Regions from separate parts of the Homo sapiens genome. Here region 1 is linked to region 2. The links are contacts of gene promoters, found by promoter capture Hi-C in human tissues and cell types (Jung and others, 2019). All regions are on one chromosome and are shown on one strand. The core of a region is centred on a gene start or on the middle of the fragment in contact, and the rest is flanking DNA. Distances in the headings are between cores, read along the strand shown. Region 1 overlaps PPP3CC (protein phosphatase 3 catalytic subunit gamma). Region 2 holds the start of PDLIM2 (PDZ and LIM domain 2).

Region 1 (7,269 bases), core at 642-3,141, 58 kb after region 2:
ATGCTGCCATTACTCAAAACGTTTTTGGAACTCCTCTTTTGGAAGTGCCTCCAGAGCCACTGTATCAGCAACACGAGAAAAACCAGTCTCATTACCTTATAATCATACCTTGTTTCTGACCCCAAATGGTATCATCTAGCTTGATCACTCACCTTATTTATCAGTCTTGACTCCGAATGACTTTTGGCTGTCCAAAAATCAAATCCACCCTCAAAGGACGAAGATTTCCCATCATTGAGGATAATCAAAAGAATGTGTCGCAGACTCTGAAGGCAATGCCAAAAGAGGAGTTCCAAAAATGTTTTTGAACAAGGACAGCATTGTTGGAATAGGTGTGTAGCCTCCCAAGGTAACTACTTTGAAGGGACAATACTCATTTGGATATGTTTGTTCTGGCATGTTTATTTTCAAAGTCCTATTAATTTATAGTCATACTTTATAAACAACAAAATAGTTACAGAAATATGAAGTTTTTAGTAGGACCACTGCCTCGATAGAAAACTTATAAACTATTAATCATAAAAGTTTTAAATTAAAAAAAAGACTTTAACAGGATAAAGTCTTAGAAGTAAAATTTCTGGAACAAAAGGCATGTATATATCCATTCTTCTTTTTTCATATGGGAAACTGAAGATTAGAAAGATAATGTGACTCACTCAAAGTCACAGTATTCGTTTCTGGCAGGGTTTAAACTAAAAATGAAGGTTTTTTTTTGACTTTGTACACTAGGTCACTCTACCTAGACCATATCTCAAGAAAAACAAAAATAGTTTAATAATTCACAAAGATTAAAATACCAATGGTGACTTTGAGATACTGTTATAAACACATTAAATTCACCAAAACCAATAATTTATGCTAACTATTCTGGCATGAGCCTGAAGCAATTTATTCTTCTTATACTTTGATTCTGTAGTATCAATCTGACCTATTATGATCATTATTTATACTCACAAAGAAGCCAGTAATCCTTAGGAGATAAAGACCAAGCAGCAGCATAAATTCTAAATTTCTTGGCCTTTGTTTCAACTAAGACCCCTTTTTTTCTTATTTAAAATTTATGTTTTAAAATGACACAAACACACATACGTACATACAATTAAACCAGAGCTCACGTTTACTCATAAATTCAAACTCAAATATTGCTGGATTCCTTTACCTTTATTGTTATAGACATCTAGGTAATTGGGGGCAGAGAAAATTGTAATAAGTGATGGAAAGCCTGTGGCTTGGCTCTTCCTGTACATTCGATACCTGAAAAAGAGATGAAAGTCCATCTGTCTGCATATTAAATGCAAAGACTCTGCAGCGATATTTGGTACAATTTTAATGTAACTTACCCAGCATCTTGGGCTTCATGGGCTCTGATAATTGATAGTAAATTATTGTTCTGCAAAAATTCACAAACTGCAGGGTAACTGGAAAAGAAAATTAGAAAACATAAATCCAGAATTAAAACAATTTTTTTTAATAGGAAGATGGGGAAAAGTCAAGGTGATATTAGCTGATTTTGTTTCAAAACTACAAGTATTACACACTACTGAAATTTTATGAATAGCTTAGTACTCATCATTCTGTTTCTCTATTTCACTAATATACTTCACTACAGATCAAACATGAAAACAATAGATAATCCTACAATAGAAAGAGCTCCTCCATCTCATCTTTTAATTTTTTTGTCTTAATCCATAACAATACAACACCAAAACTTTTATCAGTGTCTTGATATTACAAAGTACAACAGTAGTGTGTGTGTGTGTGTGTGTGTGCGTGTGTGTGTAGTAGATGCTAAAAATTCAACACATACTTTTCTTCAATTGTCAAATTGTTACAGAAATAAAAGAATATACTTACAGCTTCACAGGTAATATAAACACCAAGATAATATTATGCAGGAATACATATATACATATATATGTATATATATAGGTTTGTTTTTTTTTTTGAGACGGAGTCTTGCTCTGTCGCCCAGGCTGGAGTGCAGTGGTGCAATCTCGGCTCACTGCAAGCTTATGCAGGAATATTTTAGGAGCAGATGTAAATATTTTAGCCAACCATATTCTAAAAAAAGATACAATATTCTCATATACTCCTAAAATATTCTTTTCATACTATTACCTCTCTGAATGACAAATACCTGATAGGAAGAACTGGAGTATACAAAATTAACCTGGAATTACTTAGGCATTAATTATTTAGTTTATTTTTAAAATCTTTGTTTCTCATTATGCTCATTAGAACAAATTTACTTTTAAAGTAGGTTGTAGGTGACGTAAGCAAGATAGCAAAAGAGAATGTCCCCAGCCCTGGTCCTCCTACAGAAACAATAGTTTGGAAGCCATCCATGGCCATAAGTGCCATTGTAAGAACCTTAGGATTGAGGTAGGTGGTTATGAAACCTTGGTGGAGCCCAAGACTAGGAAGGGCTGCTTGGAGAAGGCAGGCCCACTGACCTTTCAGCTACAGACCCAGAATCAGCCTGTCCCTTGTAAACCCGGCTCCAGTCCCACTTGTCTGCAGTCCTACCACCAGCCTCATCCATCCTGGGAAGGAACCATGTCTGTTGATGCCCCTAGTAACAGATCCACCAACCAGACCCAACTGCAGACTCAAAGCAGCACTCTGACCTGGCTCCAGCCCTGCTCTACTGTGGCCAAGAGGAAGTCCTGCCTTAACAGGGGCCTTGTGGAAATCATGCCTGTCCATTCCTCTGGTAAAAGGGCTGCTGATTGGACCCAAACATAAACCCAAACCAGCCTGGGACCCAGCTTGGGTCCCACCCTATTGAGTTCCAGAGACAGCTCTCCCCATCCATGGGACATACTTGTCCATGCCCCTAGTGGTACGCCCACTGACTGTGAACCCTAATGTAGCCCCATAATCTAGCTTCAGCCCTGCTTAATCACAATACCACAGGCAATCCCATCAACCCAGGGACTCAATAGGAGAAGGTATTTACTTGGCGAACGAGTCCATAAAAACTGGAAGGCCCCTGCTCCTTCAAATGCATAGACTCCATTGCAAGGCTATATGAATTATAAAGAACCAGGCAAAAATGACACCACCAAAGGAAACTAATAAACCTCTAGTAACTGGCCCTAAATAAATAGAGATGTATGAATTGCATGACAAAGAATCCAAAATAATCATCTTAAAGAAGCTCAATGAACTACAACTAAACAAAATCAGGAAAGCAAATAAATGAATAAAGAGAGATGTTTAATAAAGAAACAGAAACCATAAAAAAGAAGCAAATAGAAATCCTGGAGCTGAAGAATACAATGACTCAACTGAAAAGCTCAAGAGACAGCTTCAACAGCAGACTCAGGCAGAAGAAAAGAACTGGGAAACTTAAAAGACAGGTCATTTGAAATGATAGCATTAGAGGGACAAAAAGAAAAAAGAATAAAAAAGAATGTGGAAAGTATACAGGACTTATGGGACAACATCAAGTGAAAATAATACAGGCATATGGGAGTTAAGGAGAAGAAAAAGGGGCAGAAAGCTTCTTATTTTTAAAAACTAAAGGCTAACAGTTTAACAAATCTAGGGAGGAAAAGGGACATTTCAATTCATGAAGCCCAAAGGTCTCCAAATAAGTTAAACACCAAGACTCATTATAATTAAGTTGTTAAAACTCAAAAAGAAAAAATCTGAAAGCAGCAAGAGAAAACCTACTTGTCATATAATATACAAGGAAGCTTCTATAAGACTATCAGTGAATTTCTCAGCTGAAACCTTGCAGGCCAGGAAAGCGGGAGATAATATATTCAAAGTACTAAAAGAAAGAAAAAAAAACCTGCCAACCAGGAATACTTTACTCATCAAAATTGCCCTTTAAGAATGAAGGAGAGATAAAGACTTTTCCAGACAAACAAAAACTGGAGTTTGTCATGACTACACCAGCCTTATGAGAGCAACTAAAGGAAGTTCAAGTAGAAACTAAAAGATGCAGCTGGCCACAGTGGCTCGTGCCTGTAATCCCAGCACTCTGGGAAGCTGAGGAAGGCAGATCACTTGAGGCCAGGAGTTAGAGACCAGCCTGGCCAACATGGTGAAACCCCATCTCTACTAAAAATATAAAAAATTAGCCAGGTGTGGTGGTGTGTGCCTGTAGTCCCAGCTACTCAGGAGGCTGAGGTAGGAGAATCACTTGAACCCGGGAGGCAGAGGCTGCAGTGAGCCAAGATCGCACCACTGCACTCCAGCCTAGGTGACAGAGCAAGACCCTGTCTCAAAAATAAAGTAAAACCTGAAATTAATTACATTAGGTGTGTGAATGGGGACTAAAGTGTAGAGTTTCTATACGTCATTGAAAGTAATTTCTTCTCAGCGTAAGACAGAGTGCTATAACTATAAAATGTTTGATGCAAACCCGATGAACAAAAAAGCACAGTAGATACACAAAAGATAAAAAGAACCAAAATACCCCACTACAAAAATAAAAATCAAATCACAAAGAGAAAAAGAGAGGAATAGTAGAACCACAAAACAGAAAGCAACCAACAAAATGGTAATAGTAAGTCCTTACCTATCAATCATTACTTTAACTCTCAAATCAAAAGATATAGTATGAGTGAATGGATGAAAACAAGACCCAACTACATGCTGTCTACAAAAGACTCACTTTAGATTTAAAGACACACATAAGCTGAAAGTAAAAGGGTAGAGAAAGGTATTCCATGCAAGTAAGTAACCGGAAGAGAACATGAGTGGCTAAACTTTTATCAGACAAAATAAACTTTAAGTCAGAAATCATCACAAGAGGGAACAAAAGTCATTATATAATGATAAAAGGGTCAATACAACAGAAAGATGTAACAATTATAAATATATATGTGCCCAACATCAAAGCACCTAAATATATAAAGCAACAACAGATCTGAAGGCAAACATTGACAGTAATAAAATAATAGCAAGTAGGACGGGCACAGTGGCTCACACCTGTAATCCCAGCACTTTGGGAGGCTGAGGTGGGTGGATCACCTGAGGTCAGGAGTTCGAAACCAGCCTGGCCAACATGGTGAAACTCCGTCTCTACTAAAAATACAAAAATTAGCTGGGCGTGATGGTGCATGCCTGTAATCCCAGCTACTTGGGAGGCTGAGGCAGGAGAATTGCTTGAACCCAGGAAGCGGAGGTTGCAGTGAGCCGAGGTCGCGCCACTATACTCCAGCCTGGGCGACAGAGCGAGACTCCATCTCAAAATAATAATAATAATAGCAAGTAACTTCAATACATCATTCTCTGTAATGGATAAATCATCCAGTCAGAAATCAATAAGCAAACAACAGAACTGAACAACACTATGAACCCAATGGACCTAATACGCATATACAAAACTTTTTGCCAAATAACAGAAGAATAGAATTCTTCCCAAGTGTACACAGAATATTCTTTAGGCTATATAATCACAAAGAAGTATCAACAAACTTAAGAAGATGTAAATCGTCCTAAGTATCTTTTCCCACCATAATGGAATGAAACTAGAAATCAATAACTTAAGAAAACAGGAAAATTCACAAATACATAGAAACTACACACCACACTTTTGAACAACTATTGTGTCAAAGAGGAAATCAAAAAGGAATTTTAAAATTATCTCTAGATAGGTCAGGAGTTCGAGACCAGCCTAAGCAACACAGCAAGACCTCATCTCCTCTAAAAATTTTAAAAACAATTAGCTGGGCATGGCGGTACATCCTGTAGTCCCAGCTACTCAGGAGGCTGAGGCAGGAGGACTGCTTGAGCCCAGGAGTTCAAGGTTGCAGTGAGGTATCATTGTGCCACTGCATTGAGCCTGGGTGACAGAGCAAAACATCCTATCTAAAAAAAAAAAAACCTCAAGATAAATGAAAACAAAAATATACATATCAAAATGTATGGGATGCAGCAAAAGCAGTACCTACAGGAAAGTTTATAGTAATAAATGCCGATTTAAAAAACAAAAAAGATCTGAATTAAACAACCTTATTTTACACTTCAAGAAACTAGAAAAAGGAGAATCAAATAAGCCCAAAGTAAGCAGAAGAAAGGAAAGTTTAGGGCAGAAATGAATCAAATAGAGAATAGAAAAACAACAGAAAAAAGTCAACAAAACTAAGAGTTGGTTTTTGAAAAACTAAACAAAATTGACAAACCCTTAGCAAGACTAAGAAAAAAAGAGATACTCAAATAAATAAAACAAAAAATGAAAGAGGAGACATTACAATAGATGCCTCAGAAATAAAAGGGATCATAACGGACTATTACGAATAATCACACACCAAAACACTGGAAAACCCAGAAGAAATGGATAGAGTCTGGAAATATACAACCTGCCAAAACTGAATCATGAAGAAATAGAAAGCCCAAACAGACCAATAGCAAATATGGAGATGGAATCAGTAATCAAACAGCTCTCAACAAAGAAAAGCACAGGACCAGATGGTTTCATGGGTGAATTCTATTAATCATTAAAAAAAAGAATTAATACCAATCTTTCTTAAACCTTCCAAAAAATAGAAGAGAGAATTCTTCCAAACTCACATTATGAGGCCAGCATCACTCTGATACCAAAGCCAAAGACACCAGAAGAAAGAAAAGTACAGGTGAGTATCTCTGATGAACATAGATTTTTAAATCCTCCATAAAACACTAGAAAGCCAAACTCAACAACATACTAAAAGTATTATATACTGTGGCTAAATGGGATTTATCCCTGGGATAAAAGAAGGCAGAGTATCACTTTGTTCAGCCTCAGCTGGGAACATGTGTGCTGGGTGAGTCAAATTTTTTATCTCATTATTCCCAGTAGCTACATTCTATAATGTTGCTGCAAAAACAGAATTAGCAAATAATGAAACACTACTGCTAAGGGAAATACAGGGTGAAGTTCCTGTGAGGCTCCGGTCATAACATTTTCACCCACCAATTAATATATAACCTTGTTTCAGATGTGTTTCTGTGTAATAATACTTTAGGTCATTTACACTGTTGATTCATTAACATTGAACTCATGGCCAAAACCACCATAACTCATGCCTAAACAAAGCTTATATCTAACACTCGCATATTTTCTCTGTAAGACATACCACAGCCTTTTTGTGCTTAGGGACCCTAGACAGCAGCACTTCAGCACTACACTTGGTGGCCATTCTAAACAGTGAAATCACTCATGAAAAGCACAAAAACATAAAACATCTTTCACTAAATAAAACTCAAAAGAATGCCTGTTTACAACATGAGGGCTGCAAAAAGAAGGTAGGGCATCATTTTGTTCAACCTCAG
Region 2 (7,003 bases), core at 4,504-7,003:
TGCTCCTTCCTCCTCCAGAGCCTCTGGGTTCTAGTGCCCTCCCTGGCCACCCCCAAAGGCTCTGCTTTCTGGAATGCAGAATCAACCCAAAGGTAGGGCTCAGCAGCTGGGCCATATCCCCATCACCCCAAAGGCTGGACGTGCCCCCCACGCCGTCCCCAGCAGCTGCGGCCCAGGGCTGTTGGCTGCCTCACTCCCTCACCATCCCCCACCGTTGAAGAGGAGAAATACCACCCAGGAAGGGGGTTAGGCTGTCACCAGGGGCCACTGGGACCTGGCTGAAAGAGAGTCCAGGGGAGCTGGCGGGGGTAGGGGGAGGAGGAGACAGAATAAGCCAAGAGCGCTCAAGGCAGAACCGCAGTCCCACTGGGGCATCTCTGGGCTGAGTCAGAGGAGGAAGGGAGGGTGTGGGTGGGAGTCAGGCAGGCCCGGGTCTTGGAATGGGGAGGAATGTGTTCGAGAGATGCAGCCAGAGACGAAAGGGAATCATCCCAACAACAGCAGCGAAACTATTTCAGCCACAGCCCAAGAGAAACATACTGGGCAGGGAGGAAGTCAGCAGGATGGGAGGGGAGGGGGATGAGGGGAGGGGTGCAGGAGATGGACGGGCTACTGGGCACTGCTGGGCAGGTCTTGGGCACAGCACAGGTGGCCCACGACCAGAAGCATGGCCTCCCTGGCTCAGGAGCAGAGCATGCCTGTGGCCAGGAGAAGGAGGCCATGGCTGCCCAGGTGGGCCTGGCCGCCTGCAGTCCCGGGGCACTGGCAACCCACAGGAACGGGAGGTGCTTCTGTTCCTCCAGCCTGTCCTCCCCCAGGGAGCCTCACCTGTCGGCTTCCAGGGCGGCCTGAGTAGGACAGGCGGTCAGCAGCGGGGAGGCCCGGGGAACATGCCAGACTCTGGAAGCTGAAAGTGGGAAAGGGACAGTGTGTGCCAGGGCCACCCCCAGCCTGCCCAGGGAGGATGCTGCCCCGGGCTCCCAAGCAGAGCTCCTGAGACTCAGAGGAGCCAGCCTGGAGCTGGCAGCGCAGGCGACCAGGGTACCCACTCACAGGCACACTCACCTGCGGCTGATGGCTGCCTCTCCAGTGAGGGAGCTGCTAGAGGGTGGTGGTGAGAAGGGGCTGCCGGCCCTCGGGCTGAGGGAGGTTGGGCTGGAGTAGGAGGACCTTAAGGAGGACTGACTCTCAGTGTATGTCCTCACGGAGCCCTGTGGAGAGAGTGACTGTGTCAGGAAAGGCAGGGCTGCCCCGCCAAGGCCGCCCTGCCCTCGGGCCTCACTTTCATGCACCAGTGATCAGGGTGCTGAGGCTGTCAGGGGAGGGCACCAGCTTACCTGGAAGCGAGTCGCCAGCACTTCCAAGGAGCTGTCCCCATTGGTCTGCCCTGGAGACGTAGCCTGAGACCTGAGAAGGCAACAGAGGGAGGGAATGTCACAGGGGCCCTGCACCCTGCAACCCCCAAAAGAGGCCAAAACTGTTCCCAGATCTAGTTCTCAACACCAGTAAAAGCTACAGAAAATTTGGACATCCGGTTGTCAACTTTTAACTTTGTCAAACTCAAGACAAACAACTATCATCAATGACAACCATGGTTCCTTAAAAGAAAGGACAGTTGGCCAGGCACATTGACCCACGCCTATCATCCCAACGCTTTGGGAAGCCAAGGCAGGAGGATCACTTGAGCCCAAGAGTTCAAGACCAGCCTGGGCAACATAGGAAGACCTCATGACTACTAAAATTTTTTTTTAAGTAGCTGCACATGGTGGTGCATGCCGGTAGTCCCAGCTACTTGGGAGGTTGAGGTGGGAGGATCGCTTGAGCCCAGGAGATGGAGGTTGTAGTGAGCCGTGATTGTGCCACTGCCTTCCAGCCTGGGCAACACAGCGAGATTCTGTCTCAAAAAAACACCAAGGCCGGGCACGGTGGCTCACGCCTGTAATCCCAGCACTTTGGGAGGCCAAGGAGGGTGAATCTCTTGAAGTTAGGAGTTCCAGACCAGCCTGGTCATCAACAAGGTGAAACCCCATCTCTAATTAAAAAAAAAAAAAAAAAAATTTAGCCAAGCCATAGTGACGCATGCCTGTAACACCAGCTACTTGGGAGGCTGAGGCAGGAGAATTGCTTGACCCAGGGAGGCAGAGGTTACAGTGAGCCAAAATTGTACCACTGCACTCCAGGCTGGGCGACAGAGTGAGACTCCATCTCAAACGACAGTAACAACAGCAAAACCCACCCCAAAAAAAGAAAGGATAGTTTGGTTCTAAAAAGTAGAACGTACATAACTTCATCAGAAAGTTCAAACATTCAGTTTTATTAGAGAGTCCTCACATTATCCTGCCCTTTTTTTTTTTTTTTTTTTTTTTTTTTTTTCTATTTTGCCTGGACTTTGTCACTGATATCACTCAGCCTCGGGTTTGTAGATTGATTTGGGGGAAGATTACTGATTTTTTTGTTTTTTGAGATGGAGTCTCGCTCTGTCACCCAGGCTGGAGCGCAGTGGTGCAATCTCGGCTCACTGCAACCTCCACCTCCTGGGTTCAAGCAATTCTCCCTGCCTCAGCCCCCCAGGTAGCTGGGACTACAGGTGCCCACTAGCATGCCCGGCTAATTTTTGTATTTTCAGTAGAGACGGGGTTTCGCCGTATTGGCCAGGCTGGTCTTGAACTCCTGACCTCAGGTGATCCGCCCGACTCGGCCTCCCAAAATGCTGAAATTACAGGTGTGAGCCACTGCGCCCGGCCTGATTACTGATTTCATAGAAATAATCCTTTATATTTTAACCCATGGAGAAACTGAAACCCAGAGAGGGAAAGTGAGCTGCCTCAAGTTCTAGAGCCCACGGTGACTGGGCCAGCTGTGCACCCTGCCCACTGGAGGCCAGGGTGCCTTTGAGCGCGTCACTCCTGATCCCTTTCTCAGGGGTCTCCCCAGTTAAACAAAGGGCGAGACCCGCCTGCCTCCTTCCAGACAAGTAGGCCCAGCTCCCCACCAGCGAGAGGGGCACGCCCTCCCAGCTCCCTGGGTACCCTCTTCCAAAGTGGAACCCAGCTGGAGCCCTGAATGGGAGGTAACTGAAGTCTGGGCTGAGGGACAGCCTGCCTCGTCCCATCTTGCCACACATTCCTGGCCGTGAGGCTGCCTCTAGAGATGTAGGGCAACAGGACCCTCCGCTTCCTGGGAGAGCCATGGGATCAGGGTGAGGAGAGCTCAGTCTCTGGCTCCAGCCTGGAGCCCTGCTTCCTGCCCCAGGGCTTCTGAATACCAGAGAGGTCACCTGGGAGGGTAGGAGGCGGGAGATGGGGGCGGGGGGGGGGGTGGGCATCACGTCAGCAAAAGTAAGGAGACTGGGCCGGGCGCGGTGTAATACCTGTAATCCCAGCACTTTGGGAGGCTGAGGCAAGTGGATCACGAGGTCAGGAGATCGAGACCATCCTGGCCAACGTGGTGAAACCCCATCTCTACTAAAAATACAAAAATTAGCTGGGCGTGGTGGCACGCGCCTGTAGTCCCAGGTACTCAGGAGGCTGAGTCAGGAGACTCTCTTGAACCCGGGAGGCAGAGGTGGCAGTGAGCCGAGATCACGCTACTGCACTCCAGCCTGGCAACAGAGCGAGACTCTGTCTCAAAAAAAAAAAAAAAAAAAAAATTAAGAGACTGGAGTCTGGGCTTGCCTGGTGCAGAACCAGAGGCCTGACTTACAGCCCAGGCCTACCTCCCCCGAGCCCTGGTCCCTCCAGAGAACCCCAGAGGAAGAGACAGTCCGAGGCTCCTGCCCTTCCGCTGCCAGACCCTCAGCCTCCTGTAGCTTTCTGCCCCATTCCCAGATGCCATGAGGTGCTCTCTACCCTCCTTCTTGGGGTCCCGCTCCTGCAAACACCCAGGGACCTGAATGACATGAAGGGAGCCGGCTTCTGCCACACCACAGGGCAGGGCAGTTGGAGAAGGAGGGGCTTGGTAGGGCTGAAGAGAGCAGGACAATGTGGGGGTGGCCAGGATGCAAGAGGTGTCTGACTCAGGTTCTAGGCCCGTGCAGAGGGCTCTCCTGGCTCGGGGATCTCCTGGCATTCCCGATCTGTGACTCACTGCAATGCCCCACCCCAGGGAGCCACCTGTTCCCCCTATAGCTTGGCCTCCAGGCCCCACCCTGGCCCCACCTTGGCTTATAGGCTCAAAACCCTAGGAGTAACCCAGGATCGGGCATCTGCCTTCAGTGATGGGGAGGAACAGACAGCCTCTATGAGGAATGAGCCCCCCAAGTCCTCACTTCCAGCTGGGAACTAAACAAAGGCCATGCCCTGTTGGAAGCAGGAGTCCTGGGGATGCAGCCTCGGGCATACCTTTCCCAGAAGGTTCCCCTCTTCAACCCACTTCATGCCCACGCCCTGTGCCCTGCACACTCTTGGGAACCAGTCAAACCCGGGCTTCAAGGTGGCTGGTGCCAGCTCGCCCTGCCCAGCCTGTGACTGCACGCCCAGCCTGGCGCCCACCTTTACCCAACCAGGCATGGGAACACCCCTCAGCCCACCCTGCTGCAGGAAGCAGAGCCCAGGACCTTCTCACCAAGGTGTGGAGAGGGCCCAAGAAGGCCGCTTTAGGGCTGAGCTCTAGCCCATGGGCAGGAGCAAGGGCTGCTCAATACGTGGGGTGGTGGAGGAGGGGGAATGCCACAGGCTCTGCAGAGCGGGAGGCCCTACCGGTCCAGCTGCAGCCGCAGGGGCGAGGGGCTCTGGCGGATCTTGCTCTGGGCCTCGGCATGCAGCATGCCCTCCGCGCTTTCCCCGTTGATGGCCACGATTATGTCTCCAGGCCGGAGGTCAGCGTCCTTGGCTTTGCCCCGCTCGGCCACCTGTAGGGATGAGGAGCTGGCATGCTCAGACCGTGGCCCAGCTGGAGAAGGGACTTCCCACTCTGCTACCCAAGAAACACAGAGGCTGGCTTGACCCAGGCCGGCCTGCACCCTCCTGCATGTCCCTCTGCCTGCTCATGACACCCAGCTGATCAGCCATCCCCTCCAGGAGCGCAGGTGGCAGCCCCCACCCCACACTGGCATTCTAATGGGCCTCCCAAAGAATGTGCAGTGGCAGAATTTCAGGAACTGTGCTTGGAAATACTTTTGGATAGAGAGCCTTGCCCGTGCAAATCGCACCTTGCAGGTGGCTGCCTGCACAGCCCTCCTGTGAATGTTCCCAGCCTGGGCCCAGGTCAAGAGGAGACTGCCAAGAACTCCGGGGCTCTTGTTCTAGTAATCACCCCAAATGGCTGCCTGCAAGTGTGGGGATAGCAACTGGGGAGGCAAGAGCCGGCCCTGTCCTGGTCCCAGCTCCCTTTCACTCCCAAGGTCTGTTCCTGAAGTGGCCACCACATCCCCGTGGCAAAGGGCCACGGCTCCCTTACAGCCAGCACGCCAGGCAGCAGCAGATCCCTAGCTCCAGAACAGAAAAAGCAAGCCATCTGTGCAGAGTGGGGTGAACAGGGCCGACCTCGCTTCTGGCAGGACCTTCTCATCTCTTTGAGCCACCATCCTTACCTTAGTCACCATGATGGGCGTGTGGAAATCCCTGCCCCCTGTGATACGGAAGCCCCAGGGCGCTGGCCCGGCCACATCCACCGTCAACGCCATACCTGAGGAAGAGAGGACCAGGAGGTGAAGTCCATGCCCCTAGCCGGCTCTGGGGGCACTGTAAGGCAGCAGGAGAGGAGCCAAAGGGAGAAGGAGAGGGCACCACAGCTCCCGGAGCAGCTACTCAGGGGCTTTGGGGTGGGTAGAGGAAGTGGCTAACTCCCTCCCTCAGCCCGGTTTCACTTCCCCCCACCCTGGGAAGCCATGCTTCTGGGTTCTCCCTTCCTTAGTCTTCAGCCCAGGGAGCGACTCCCAGGAGGGGGCTGCCCAGGCTGCCAGGCAGGGGGCTTGCTGGAGCATGGGGGGCAGGGGCTGGCAAGTGGAGGGGATGCCAGCACCCCCTCAGTCTCCCCTCCTCCACCATCAGGGCTCAGTCCCACTAGCGCTTGCTTCCTGTCCCCAAAACCCACAGCACACGGTACTTCCTCTCCACTCTGGGGGAGGGCTGGTGAGTGGCCTAGGGAGAGCAGGGCTCAGGAAGCAGGAGTGACGGGTCAAGGAACAGGCTGGCACCAGTACAGACTGTGTAAGTCACTGGCCAGGTGAAGGACTGGTGGGGTGAGGCCGAGTCTTCACATGGGCCTCCTAGCTGCCCACCTCGTTCTTGGCAAAGTGGATCACACGGGCAAGACCGGGCTCCCCACCTCCCCCAGGGGCCGGCTGCCAGGGCAAGGAGGCCAGGGTTCATCTGTCAAGCTGGACACACCCACCCCCAGATTCCTGATGCTGCCCGACAGACAGCCGGGGTGACAGGCCTCCCATCCACAGCCCCTCCGCTGGGCAAGGAAGTGCCCTTGCAGACAGACCCCTGTGGGATTTCCTGAGCCTCTAGCTCTGGAGCCAGGAGCCAATCCAGGCAGGAAGCCGCGGTGCCAGGCTGGGCACCACCCTGCCCAGCACCCATCCTGGGGCTGCCCTGGGGACGCAAGTGCTGCGAGAATCTATCAAGAGCACCAGCGGTCTGTCCGCTCCATCCCCGGCTGCCTTCCCCTTGGGCCCAGGCCTAGCCTCTGTTCCCAGCACCGCCCCCACCCCAGTCCCCGAGGCCGGCTCGCGGCCGCCCCGAGATTCCCAGACCTTTGAGCCGGTCAGTGGACTCCGCGCTGCGGGCGCCGCGGGGAGGTGCCCAGCCCGATGGCCCGGCTCTACCAGTTCTGGAGCCTCCTTCGCTCCGAGGGCAAAGTACCCTGCGGGCTGGGGGCTGGAGGAGGAGCGCTCCGGCCGGGGAGAGCGCAGCTCGCGGGGGCGCCCCCGCTGATGCGAGGCTCCAGGGAGCTGGGCCGCGGACGAGGCCAGGGTTCCGCGCCGACAGGGGCGCGGAGAGGAGCCCGGCGCCGGGGAGGGCGGGCCGCGCGGAGAGGCGCAGGTGGGCGCGCTCAC

The links. Contacts are between HindIII fragments. The study calls those that stand out against the background at their distance.
Region 1: a fragment that was not itself captured here is called in contact with the fragment with the promoter of PDLIM2 in region 2 in 1 of the 25 tissues and cell types used here (hippocampus).

What each region holds. Positions count from the first base shown.
Region 1 is chr8:22,516,640-22,523,908 of GRCh38, reverse strand. PPP3CC (protein phosphatase 3 catalytic subunit gamma) reads right to left here. Exons shown (of 14, transcript NM_005605.5): 7 at 1,341-1,418; 8 at 1,160-1,254. The region is part of intron 1 of LOC124901905 (a long non-coding RNA gene); the gene reads left to right. Among named protein-coding and RNA genes, the nearest start is that of SORBS3, 32 kb to the left of the region's middle. The HindIII fragment of the contact is 6,953 bases long and covers 1-5,367 here.
Region 2 is chr8:22,579,225-22,586,227 of GRCh38, reverse strand. PDLIM2 (PDZ and LIM domain 2) reads right to left here and starts at 5,753. Exons shown (of 9, transcript NM_001368120.1): 1 at 5,531-5,753; 2 at 4,698-4,849; 3 at 1,338-1,407; 4 at 1,066-1,211; 5 at 829-907. The coding sequence starts at 5,623. RefSeq lists enhancers at 883-1,552, 3,827-4,519 and silencers at 3,858-4,152, 5,717-5,806, 6,537-6,696, 6,707-6,796, 6,897-6,966. The HindIII fragment of the contact is 15,508 bases long and covers 1,695-7,003 here.